2 separate regions of the Homo sapiens genome follow, and region 1 is linked to region 2. Evidence: promoter capture Hi-C in human tissues and cell types (Jung and others, 2019). All regions are on one chromosome and are shown on one strand. Each heading gives the region's core, a stretch centred on a gene start or on the middle of the fragment in contact. The rest is flanking DNA. Distances are from core to core; before and after follow the strand shown.

Region 1 (6,456 bases), core at 1,071-3,570, 230 kb after region 2:
GATCATTAAACTTTTTCTCTGCTGCAAACACTTCTGTCTCAGTGTATTTTCTGTTATTGCACAGCAGGGATATGAACCTGGTGGTCCTGTAACACCAGCCACCAGCCCTAGATGGAGGGACTCAGGACATGAACAACAGAGACCCTCCCTGTGACAGGGAAAAGAGGAGAGTACAGGGAGAGACAGAATATTGTTCCTCATTCAAGTGCCTGCCTAGTCAGTGAACAAGGGGGCCACCCAAGGCAGAGAAGCTGAGTGGATCTCAGTCTGTGGGATCGGGGGGACCAGCACTGACCCGTTGTCAGGAATGAACCACAACAGGAGGCTTTGGACACCTGCCTGCAGCCTCTCCAGTCATATAAGCAGATGGCAGTTTGGTCAATGGGAGATCCACTGATGATCAGTGGGGAGAGCAGAATGAGGTCTGTCCTCTGCCCTCCTCTTTCAGCCACAGATCTTGGTTCCAGGAGCAGCTGTTTCCTGGCACCACCAGCCTGGGAGTGGTGACAGCTCTCGGTGGATGGTAACCTCCAGGGTGCTGCACCATCCCTCATGGTTCCCCTTGGCCCTGCCCACACCTTTGCAAACGGCTCCTCCTTAAACCCCCTCCTTTAGCCCCTGTGGGTTCCCTGCCAGGACCCGAGTGTTACGTTCCCCAAAAAGATGGGACCTCTCAACACACCAGTTATGTGGGTGCTGAAGTTTACATAAGCACATCATAAGCATTCTCCCAGCTGTCGGAATGGGAGCAGGGGGTTGAAGGGAGAATTCTTGTTCTCAATGCTTACACTTAGCAATTGTTTCCTTTTATTATATGAGGTTGTACAGCATGTTTAATTATAATTACTAATATATATAATTACAAATTATATTTTAAAAGAAATTGCTGGTCGGGTACGGTGGCTCACGCCTGTAATCCCAGCACTTTGGGAGGCCGAGGCAGATGGATGACCTGAGGTCAGGAGTTCGAGACCAGCCTGGCCAACATGGTGAAACCCCATCTCTACTAAAAATACAAAACTTCACCAGGGGTGGTGGAGCATGCCCGTAATCACCACTACTTGGGAGGCAGAGGCAGGAGAATCACTTGAACACAGGAAGCGGAGGATGCAGTAAGCCAAGATTGCACCACTGCACTCCAGCCTAGGTGACAGAGCGAGACACTGTCTCAAAAACAAAAACAAAAAAGAAATTGCTTAGCATCGTGCCTGACATTTAGTAGAACTCCATCTATATGACTTGTGAGAAGCCAGAGAGTGTCGTGGTGAAGAACAGGGACTCCAGGTGCAGGCTGCTTCGTTCAACTCTCAACCAGCTGTGTGAATTTGGGCCAGTCTCTTTATTTCTCTGTGCCTCAGTTTTCTTGCCTGAAAACCAGGAGTCATAGCAAGGTTGTTGTGAAAATTAAGGGAGTTTAAAAGAGTAAAGTGCTTACAACAACATTCCCTGGCACATAATCAGCCACAAGCATGTGCATGCCATTATTACTCTAATGACAGGACAAGGACACAGACACCAGCTATGAGCCTTGGTTCCCTCTGGCACATGCAGCAAAGCCCTTGATGGCTTCGAACTTCCTATGTTGTTTCCGCTGGCCTTTAGTAGGGTGGAGTCTCTCAGGAGAGGAGCAAGCACCAAGCTTGGGATTAGGTGGCCCATGGTCAAACCTGGACCTGCCACTAATCAGCTGTGTGACTTTGGGCAAGTGACTTGTCTTCTCTGAATCTCATGTTCCTCTTCAGTACAAAGGACACAGTGATAAGCCTATTGAGATGGGAGAAGCCAGCAGACATGCTTGTCTTAGTTTGGGTTTCCTGGAAGTAGACCCTGATGCAAGGATTCAAGTGCAAATAATTTATTTAGAGGTGACCAAATTTCAACTGCCAGTTGTTTGTTTGGGAGGTAAGTCCAGGAAACACCAGTAGGACAGCTGAAAACTGAGACAGGAAAGGAAATGTAGCAATTAAAAGGAACTTATTTAAAATAGTTTCCACCATGGGCAGCCAAGGCTCAGCCCTCCATGGCACCTCTGGGAGACAGCATAGAACATGCACCTCAGAGTCATCCCACTCAGGGAAAAGGAGCTGGGGCATTTACCCACCAATACTCACCACCCATTGTTGAGGGCTGCTTCCAAGGACATGAGAATGTGCTGCCTGCACTGCAAGGGTCAGACATGGGATCAAGGGCATGAAAATGTGCTGCCTGCACTGCAAGGGCCAGATGTAAGGTCAAGGGCATGAGAATGTGTTGCCTGTATTGCAAGGGTCAGATGTGGGGTCAAGGGCATGAGAATGTGCTGCCTGCACTGCAAGGGTCAGGCCTGGGGTCAAGGACAGTGGCTGTGATAGTGGCTCCAGTCATGAATAGGAACACAGCCTGGTGTAGACAGCTACAGTGGCTCAGTGACAACAACATACACACACTCACACATGCATACCACACTCAGACACTCAGTCGCCAACACGGTGTAATACAGACATATGCACATGTGATCACAGCCACCCATGCACACAATTACATACACTCACAAACACACTTGCACACGCTGTGAATGCAGTCCCACAGATACAGTCACACACACACCTACAATCGCACACCCACACACATCCTCTCTCTCTCTCTCTCTCTGTCACACACACACAAACAAACACAGAGACAAACTAATAATCCAGACACCTGGGAGTCTGTTCTCCCCAAACTGTCCAGTGGTGCCTCCTTCACATTCAAGAGAGGAAGGAGGCCCCACAGCAACCGATGACAAGACCAGGCCTGAGCAGGCCTGAGTACGTTTTGTTGTTGCTGTTGTTGTTGTTGTCGTTGTTGTTATTTATTTTTATTTTTATTTTTTTTAGGTGGAGTTTCACTCTGTTGCCAGCCTGGAGTGCAGTAACAGGATCTCGGCTCACTGCAACCTCCGCCACCCAGGTTCAAGCGATTCTCCTGCTTCAGCCTCCCGAGTAGCTGGGACTACAGGCGTGCACCACCACGCCTGGCTAATTTTTGTATTTTTTAGTAGAGACGGGGTTTCACCATGTTGGATGAGCTGGTCTCGAACTCCTGACCTCGTGATCCACCCGCCTTGGCCTCCCAAAGTCCTTGGATTACAGGTGTGAGCCACTGCGCACAGCCCTGAGAATGTTTCTAGAATTACATACACAGGTGTAGCAGAATCCTAGAGGCCCACTGGCCCTCTGCCTCCCCACTCACTCTCTCTTTCATAAACCATCACTCCCCTTAGAGGAAGCTGAAAGCCTAGGTGGAGTGGGAAAAGAAACCTTTGACTGGCCGGCCGCGGTGGCTCACGCCTGTAATCCCAGCACTTTGGGAGGCCGAGGCTGCTAGATCACGAGGTTAGGAGATCGAGACTATCCTGGTTAACACGGTGAAACCCCATCTCTACGAAAAAATACAAAAAATTAGCCGGGCGTGGTGGCGGGCGCCTGTAGTCCCGGCTGCTCGGAAGGCTGAGGCAGGAGAATGGCGTGAACCCAGGAGGCGGAGCTTGCAGTGAGCCGAGATCGCGCCGCTGCACTCCAGCCTGGTTGACAGAGCAAGACTCCGTCTCAAAAAAAAAAAAAAAAAAAAAACAACCTTTGACTCTGCAAAGATAAGTCACTCTTTGAAGGAGTTTGCTGCAACTCCATGGATAGATCTAAAGGCAGAGGGTGAATTTGCTCTCTGTTCTGGAGCTGGGACATCCATCTTCTCCTGCCCTTGGACATGAGAACTCCAGGTTCTCAGGCCTTTGGACTCAGATGCAGCTACCCCACCAGGCATCCCTAGTTCTCCAGCTTACAGAGAGCATCTTGTAGAACTTCTCAGCCTCCCTAATCACAAGAGACGATTCCTGTAATAAATTCCCTATTCACTCTACCTCCCTTTCCAGATAGATGGATAGATACAAACATAGATAGAGATATATTCTATTGATTCTGATTCTAAGGAGAACCCTAAGATCGCAGGTCTGCCTGCAGCCTCTGGCTGTGGTGCAGCCTCAGCAGTAAACAGTGTCTAGATTCTGCATGGATAAAGGGAAGCTCTGCTTCCTCCTGTTCCTTCTGTATCAGGGACATCTCCAAGCCCCAAGGGTGCATTCCAGGGCAGAGGGAGAAGACACACTGTCTGCCAACAGAGAGGTCTGTTTTGGCTTGAGAGGAAATGTATTCTTTTCCTGAGAGTGGTTCCAGCCCATGGAGAGTCATATGGAGTGGGCTCCACAAGGGCAGTTTGTGGGCAGCAGTGTGGCCTCAGGATATGCGCTAGGGCTGGTCCCCAAATCCTTTCATGTTCTGGCTGGTCCACCCGGGCTTCAGTTCCTCTCATGGAAAAGGGTCTATACATAGGAACCTTCCCTTCTCAGCAGCCTGCAGAGGAGCAGAGGTGACCCTAACTGTCCATCAGGATGGTGGCTCCCACCTGGGAGCAGCTTCTGCACCAGGCTCTGTACTAGTGTGTCCTGTGCACCATCCCACTGCCCTTGTGAACAGGCCCATCAATCTTGCCATTTACAAATGAACACACCGAGGCCGCATCCCCCAAAGGTAAGAGCAGGCCTAAGTCAGAGGGCAGGGTATGGTGGAGAGAAACGGACAAGAGTCGGCTTCTGAAAGGGGAAGTGAGCGGCCACCTTTTATCCGGGTTGGGCAACATGGCCCGTTGGGACATCTTAGTGAAAGGGAGCAAGAGGAAGGTGGCTCCAGAAGGGGAAGAGTTGGGTTGCATAAGTGCAAGTCAGATGGTGGCAGTAATGAAAGACATTAGCAGAGTGAGAGGAGCTGGAACGTGACCGTGGGGTCTGTTCTGAAAACAGAGATCAATCAAGAGGCCAAATCAAATCCAAATTCCATCTGCTCCCTCCTGCCAGCTCAAAGTCCAGGATTTCTGGGTGATGTGCAGTTCTTTTTTTAATTTTTTTTTTTTTGAGATAGAGTCTCGCTCTGTTGCCCAGGCTGGAGTGCAGTGGTATAGTCTCAGCTCGCTGTAATCTCCACCTCCCAGGTTCAAGCAATTCTACTGCCTCAGCCTCCCAAGTAGCTGGAACTACAGGCACGTGCCACCATGCCCAGCAAATTTTTGCATTTTTAGTAGAGATGGGGTTTCGCTATGTTGGTCGGGCTGGTCTCCAACTCCTGATCTGAAGTGATCCACCCACCTCGGCCTCCCAAAGTGCTGGGATTACAGGAATGAGCCACTGCACTCGGCCTTGATGTGCGGTACTCTGCTTCACATTTTGATGTGGGCTTGTGTGGTGTGGAAATCTATAAATTTAATAGCAATTATCAGTTCTAACGCATCCCAGAGTGGAGCAATCACTGGATCATGACAATTTAACATTCTGTTTTACACTTGTTGCTTCCATTAATAGCAAACTAAGTTATTTGGATCAAAATTCCAGCATTTTTAAAAAGCTGGATGCAGCTGGGTGTGGTGGCTCACGCCTGTAGCCCCAGCACTTTGGGAGGCTGGGGTGGGCGGATCACTTCAGGTCAGGAGTTCGAGACCAGCCTGGCCAACATGGTGAAACCCCATCTCTACTAAAAATACAAAAATTAGCCAGGCATGGTGGCAGGAGCCTGGAATCCCAGCTACTCAGGAGGCTGAGGCAGGAGAATCACTTGAATCCGGGAGGTGGAGGTTGCAGTGAGCCGAGATCAAGCCACTGCACTCCAGCCTGGGCAATGGAATGAGACTCTGTCTCAAAAAAAGAAAAAAAAAAAAGGTAGATGCTTCTTCAATTCTTCATATAAATAAATGACATGAAAAGACAGTGAAACAATAGCGAAGACATGTAATCAACCCAAATGCCCATCAGTGATAGACTGGTTAAAGGAAATGTGGTACATATACACCATGGAGTATTATGCAGCCATAAAAAGGAACAAGACCAGGTCCTTTGCAGGGACATGGATGGAGCTGGAAGCCATTATCCTCAGCAAACTAACACAGGAACAGAAAACCAAACACTGCATGTTCTCACTCATAAGTGAGAGCTGAACAATGAGAACACATGGACACAGGGAGGGGTACAACACACACTGGGGCCTGTGGTGGGGGCAGGAGGAGGGAGAGCATCAGGACAAACAGCTAATGGATGTGGGGCTGAATACCTAGGTGATGGGTAGGTATCACCATGCAGCAAATCACATTGCTGCAGTCACATTGCAGCAAATCACCATGGCACACATTTACCTATGTAACAAACCTGCACGTCCTGCACATGTATCCCAGAACTTAAAATAAAATAATTTTTTTAAAAAAAGAAGAGTGAAAAATCACAAAAACATGATTCAAATAATAACAGAAACCTAGAGATAAAGTGAATATAAACTATACCTTCTCTCTGAAGGCACTTCTCAAATCAGGAAAATTTGAAACTCTTTTAACGGTTTTGTGATTGCAGGAAAAAAAAAATTCTAAGCCTAGGTGTGATACAAGGAGGGAAAATGGTAAAAA
Region 2 (6,814 bases), core at 3,782-6,281:
GGAGCGTGAACCCTATTGTGAACTGTGCACACGAGGAATCTGGGTTGGGTGCTCTTTATGGGAATCTCATGCCTGATGATCTATTACTGTCTCCCATCACCCTCAGATGGGACAGTCCAGTTGCAGGAAAACAAGCTCAGGGCTTCCACTGATTCTACATGATGGTGAGTTGTATAATTACCTCATTATATATTACAATGTAATAATAATAGAAATAAAGTGCACAACAATAAATGTCATGTGCCTGAATCATCCCAAAACCATCCCCCAACCCCAGTCCGTGGAAAAATTATCTTCCATGAAACTGGTCCCTGGTGCCAAAAAGGTTGAAGCCTGCTGATGTGCTACTAGTATATGGAGTATTTCCACAGTACACGTGCAATAGTCATAAACTCAAAAGCACAGACAATGGTAAAATATATATGAAATAATTAAGAAGTGATACATTTTAAGCAGTTATTACAGCTTTAAGCTTCTAGAGTTCATTACTTTCTCACCTGCTTAATCTTTAAGAAAATTATTTGTCTCTAAGAACTTCTGAGACTTTCAGATAGAAGAATCAATCTCCTTATAATCTGTATTTACAGAAGACCTGCCATCAATTGGTAGGTGCTGAAAATAACGCTAAGAGTCATAGATGAACCTTTCAATCATGACAGAAGTGAGAAGACAGAGCTCACTCCTAGATTCCCTTAATTTATTTCACTGTAATTTCATACAGTTTACTTTTAATCAGAGCTGTGTTTAACAACCAGGTTGCAACAATTTTCAGAAGTTGACAACTGGCTGTTCTGAGTTGGTTGAAGCTGTTCAGTCATCACCTCCCCCGATCCCATCCTCCCTCAGGTGGCTGAACATGTCACTCATAGGATTTATTTATTTATTTTTAATTTGTAAATAATTGTTGGTAGAGATGGGGGGGTCTCATTATGTTTCCCAGACTGGTCTTGAACTCCTGGCCTCAAGTGATCCTCCTGCCTCGGCCTCCCAAAGTGCTGGGATTACAAGGATTTAAACCCTCTGGTGACTCTCCAGACATCAAGAGGAAGCCACAGCTCCTTCGACCACCCTCCAAGTCTCCTTAAGCTGTCCTTGGCCACCTCTCCAGACCCTCTTCCATCTTTGTCCTCTCCTTGCCTCATGTCCCTGGCTTACTAGACTGCATTCAGGCTCGTTCCACCATATCCCTCTGAAGCCATCTTCAAGACTCTGTTCTGTCTACTTGTAGCACCTTTTCTCTGATCTTCTGACTGGCTGAAGTCTACTCATCCTTATGACTCCCATCACCAATTTTGATGGACTTTTCCTGGTCCTGCCACCCCTCCTTGCTAGCTCAACATCGATCACACCATGACATATTTTTTTTTTTTTTGAGATGAAGTCTAACTCTATCACCCAGGCTAGAGTGCAGTGGTGCGATCTTGGCTCACTGCAACCTCTGCCTCCTGGGTTCAAGCGATTCTCCTGCCTCAGCCTCCCAGGTAGCTGGGATTACAGGTGCCTGCCACCGCGCCCAGCTAATTTTTGTATTTTTAGTAGAAACGGGGTTTCACCATGTTGGCCAGGCTGGTCTCGAACTCCGGACCTCATGATCCATCCGCCTCGGCCTCCCAAAGTGCTGGGATTACAGGCGTGAGCCACCGTGCCCTGCCACCGTGACATAATTTTAACTTTAATATTTGTGTCTTTCCTGCCACTGTGTACTCCACAGGAGAAGGTTTCCAGCTTCATTTATCTTTGTACCTTGGTGCCAGGCACACAGTTGTCGCTCCATAAATGTCTGCATATTAGTTACTTAGTGTGAGCATGTTTTATAATCCCGATTAGTCTGTTTATGTGCTCCTGGAACAGATAAGTTAGAAATGGCTAAGTTCAAAGTTCTTCATTATATTTATATCATTCCAAATTTTGAAAAATCTCTCCAAAAATTTTAAGGCTTTAATTTGTATACGTGCTGCCATATCTTATTTCTGCGGGTCCCTCCAGTGTATCTAAATTCCTCCAAGACAAAGATGCCAAGAACATACACTGGGGAAATGACACTGTCTTCAGTAAATGGTCCTGGGAAAACCAGATATCCATGTACAGAAGAATGAAACTAGACCCCTATCTCTCACCACATAAAAAAATAAAGTCAAAATGGATTAAAGACTTAAATCTAAGACCCCAAACTATGAAACTACTAAAATAAAACATTAGGGAAACTCTCCAGGACATTGGTCTGGGCAAAAATTTCTTGACTACGGGCATAGACAACGAGAGCAAAAATGGGTAACTGGGATCACATCACGTTACAACCTGCACAGCAAAGGAAACAATAAACAAAGTGGGCTGGGCGTGGTGGCTCACGCCTGTAATCCCAGCACTCTGGAAGGCCGAGGTGGGCTGATCACCTGAGGTCAGGGGTTCGAGACCAGCCTGGCCAACATGGTGAAACTCCATTTCTACTAAAAATACAGAAAACTAGCTGGGCATGGTGGCGTGTGCCCATAATCCCAGCTACTCAGGAGGCTGAGGCAGGAGAATTGCTGGAACCCGGGAGGTGGAGGTTGCATTGAGCCAAGATTGAGCCACTGTGCTCCAGCCTGGTCGACAGAGCGAGACTCCATCTCAAAAATAAAAAATAAAAAAAAATAAAAGTAAATAAAAAATAAACAAAGTGAAGAGACAATCACAGAATGGGAGAAAATACTTGCAAACTATCCATCTGATAGGGGATTAATAACCAGGATACATAAGGGGCTCAAACAACTCAATAGGAAAAAAATTAATGATCTGATTTTAAAATGGGCCAAAGATCTGAATAAACATTTCTGAAAAGAAGACATACACATGGCAAACAGGCATATTAAAAGATGCTCAACCTCACTGATCATGAGAGAAATGCAAATCAACACTACAAGATAATGTCTCAACCCAGTTAAGATGGCATTTATCCAGAAGACAGGCAATAAGGAATGCCTGGGAGGATGCTGAGAAAAGGGAACCCTCATGATTTTTTGGTGGGAAAGTAAATTAATACAACCACTATGGATAATAGTATGGCGGTTTCTCAGAAAACTAAACATAGAGCTATCATATGATCCAGAAATGCCACTACTTAAGTATATACTCCAAAGAAAAGAAATCAGTGTATCAAAGAGATATCATTTGTATGGAATTATCCATAAAATTAAAAGCCTAGCTCCTTTCACATAGCACATGTTTTCAACGTTCATCTCTACTGTGGCCTGGACTGGGATGTTATTCCTTTCTGTGGCTGAATAATAGCCATTATATGATTATACCACACTTTGTTTATCCATTTATTTATTAATAGACATTTGGATCTGCCATTGATAGACGTTTGGATCAGGCCATGTCCAGTGGCTCACACCTGCAATCCAAGCACTTTGGGAGGTCAAGGCAGGAGAATCGCTTAAGCCCAGGAGTTCCAAGAGCAGCCTGAGAAACAAAGTGAAATCCTACTCTCTACAGAAAAATTAAAAAATACCGTTTGGCTACTGTGAACAGTGCTGCTATGCACATTTGATGTCCAAGGATTTGTTTGAATCCTTTTCCATTCTTTTGGGTGTATACCTAGGAGTGAAATTGCTGAGTCCTTTGATAATTTCTATGTTAACTTTTTGATAAACTGTCAAACCATTTTGTGTGTTTTTAAAATGCAGATCTGATTCTCCCGTAGATATCTTTCCGTAACTTGGTTTTTCACTCAGCGTCTTAGAGTGAACTCTGTGTGAGTTTATGCAGACCAAAGTTTCTCAGTCTTGGCAATGTCGACATTTTTGTGTTGACAAAATGGCTGGAGTGCCGTGGCTACTCACAGGGGCAATCATAATGCATCGTTATATATAGTAGTATATAGTCCCATTTATATGAAATGTCTAGAATAGGTAAGTCCATAGAGCCAGAGCCAGAAAACAAATTGGTGGTTTTGAAGGACTGGGTGGGGTAGGGGAGTGGCTGCTAATGGGTATTAGGTGATGAAAACATTTTGGAACTAGACAGAGGCGGCGGCCACACAACATTGTGAATGCATTCAATCCCAGGGAATTGTATACTTTAAAGTGGTTGATTATTTTATGTGAATTTCACCTCAAAAGCAGAACGAAGCGAAAGCAACAATAATGCACAACAGAACTCTGATTTTATGGGTTTGCATTGTTTTCACATCCTACATGCTCATGAAGATCTGAAGGGATACCCATTAAATTCACCGTCACGATTGCCTGGCTGGCCATTGCATGGTTTGCTGCTTTGTATGTAGCATTTCAATTACATAATAAGAAGAAACAGGCCAGGCATGGTGGCTCACAGCTGTAATCCCAGCACTTTGAGAGGTCAAGGTGGGAGGATCCCTTGAGCCAAGGAGCTCAAGACCAGCCTGGGCAACAAAGCGAGACCCCATCTCTACAGAAAAATTAAAACTTAGCCCAGGTGTGGTGGCAAGCACCTTTACTCCCAGCTGCTCAGGAGGCTGAGGCAGGAGAATCATTTGAGCCTGGGAGGTTGAGGCTGCAGTGAGCCATAATCACACCACTGCACTCCAGCCTGGGCAACAGAGCTAGACCCTGTCTCAAAAAATAAAAATAAAAACAAATACGTGTGTGTGTGTTGGTTTTAAAAAATTATTTTAAAGGACATTTAGTTGGGCAAATGACCCAGTTGGAGAAGAATGAAGGTGACGGGGCATATCAAGGCAGCCTCTGCAGTCCCTGGGGGCAATGGCAGGGCTGCCCTCCTGTCAATTTCAACAGTCATGGGCCCAAACCCCAAATCTGTAGAGCACTAGACTCTGCTCAAGCTCTTGACAAGCTCAGGGAATTGACTCACCCCTGGCAGGCGGGGGGAATGGGAAAGTGAGGATACAGATTCCCTGAGGTTGCCTCCTCTCTGGCAGGGTCCCTGGGGTCCCAGCATCCCTGTAGCGGAGACAGAGACAGTAGGACCACAGCGAGGGAAGCCGGTGGGCAGGGAGTCAGGGAGGGATAAATAATCGCATTTGGGCTCAGTCAAGCCCCCGGCTCAGCTGGTGTGGCTGCTTGGTGCAGCCCACACCTGGTCAGCTCCCACCTGTGGAGAAACTCCAAACTAGAGCCTCCTACTGGGATGAAGCAGAAGCAGATGCCTGGAGTCCCAGGTGAGTCACCTCCCCTCTCAGCCACCTGACCAGGAGAGACCTGGGGAACCAGCACCTGCCAGGGACTCCAAGAAACCACCTGTTTATATTACTCCTTTAGCAATGTGAGTCTACAGGGCAGTGGGTGACAGGCAGAGGCCACTCACCACGTCTTAGTCAGTGTGCTGTTTGCTTAGCAGGACTTACCTTCTTCTATTTTTTTTTTTTTTTTTTTGAGACGGAATCTCGCTCTGTAGCCCAGGCTGGAGTGCAGTGGCGCAATCTCGGCTCACTGCAACCTCCGCCTGCCAGGTTCAAGCGATTCTTCTCCCTCAGCCTCCTGAGTAGCTGGGACTACAGGTGCGTGCCACCATGCCTGGCTAATTTTTTGTATTTTTAGTAGAGACAGGGGTTTCACCATGCTGGACAGGCTGGTCTTGAACTCCTGATCTCGTGATCCACCCGCCTCGGCTTCCCAAAGTACTGGGATTACAGGCATGAGCCATCGTGCCCAGCCAGGACTTGCCTTCTTTAGAGCTCCTGCTGCCTCATGAGGTAGGTCCCTTGGATGGGGGAGGTAACAGGTGCAGAGAGAAGACAGCCAATGCTCAATGTGACCCAAGGTGATGGTTTGATTTTAACCTCTCTTCTCGGTCTGTCCAGGCAAGAAGTCTACGGAAAAAGGATTGGGAAGAGGCGGAGAAAAGAGAGAAAGAGGATTCAGGGTTCAGAAGCTCCAGCCACCACCCCAGGGTGTAAAGAATCAGGGTGGGCCGGGTGCAGTGGCTCATGCCTGCAATCCCAGCACTTTGGGAGGCCAAGGTGGGAGGATCACTTGAGTCCAAGAGTTTGAGGCCAGCCTGGGCAGCATAGTGAGACCCTGTCTGTACAAAAAAATACAAAAATTGGCCAGGAATGGCAGGCACCTGTAGCTACTCCAGAGATTGAGGTGGGAGGATTGCTTGAGCCCAGGAAGTTAAGGCTGCAGTGAGCTGTGATTGTGCCTCTGCACTCCAGCCTGGGTGACAGAGGGATACCCTGTCTCTCTCTCTCTCTCTCTCTCTCTCTCTCTCTCTCTCTCTCTCTCTCTCTCTCACACACACACACACACACACACACACACACACACAAGGGAGGCGTCAATGGGAGCAGGTGGTGAGGGAATGGTTAGGAGCTGGGGATGAGAAGATGGAGAGAAAAGAGAGGGAAGTGGTGGCTTAAGTGGAAGAGAGGGGAGGCCAGACAGCTTCACTAAGAAGAGAGAGCCAGGATGGGTGAGAGTTAAGGCCAGATGGGGTCTCAGAGACAAGACAGGCCTGGCCCATGGAGTGATGCTGTCACCCAGGAGACACGTGACAACGTATAAGGACATTTCTGATTGTCGTGACTGGGGAGTGCTGCTGGTATCTATCTGGTGGGTGGAGACCAAGAATGCTGCTCAGTCTCCTGCAGTGCACAGGACACCCCTCTGAGAGAGAATGATTCGCCCCTAGCGTCCCTAATGCTGAAGGCAGGAAACCCTGCTCTAGGGATGTCTGTGGCAGGACTTGTCCACAGCCACGCTTAGCCCTAGAGTCTCTGAGTGGAGAACTGGCCCCACCGGGTGTTCCTGTCAGTGCTAGACAGTGGGCTTGCTTGCTCTCTCTCTTTCTTCTCACCTTTTTCTTCTCTTTCCCCTCTGTCCTCTCTTTCTCC

The links. The method cuts DNA at HindIII sites, captures the fragments that hold promoters and counts their contacts. A contact is called where the count stands out against the background at its distance.
Region 1: a fragment that was not itself captured here is called in contact with the fragment with the promoter of OR10H1 in region 2 in 1 of the 25 tissues and cell types used here (small bowel).

Annotation. Positions count from the first base shown.
Region 1 is chr19:15,586,069-15,592,524 of GRCh38, reverse strand. No RefSeq gene overlaps it. Among named protein-coding and RNA genes, the nearest start is that of CYP4F8, 26 kb to the left of the region's middle. The HindIII fragment of the contact is 7,557 bases long and covers 1-6,098 here.
Region 2 is chr19:15,813,881-15,820,694 of GRCh38, reverse strand. It overlaps OR10H1 (olfactory receptor family 10 subfamily H member 1), which reads left to right and starts at 5,031. Exons shown (of 4, transcript NM_013940.4): 1 at 5,031-5,140. The HindIII fragment of the contact is 22,557 bases long and covers 1-6,814 here.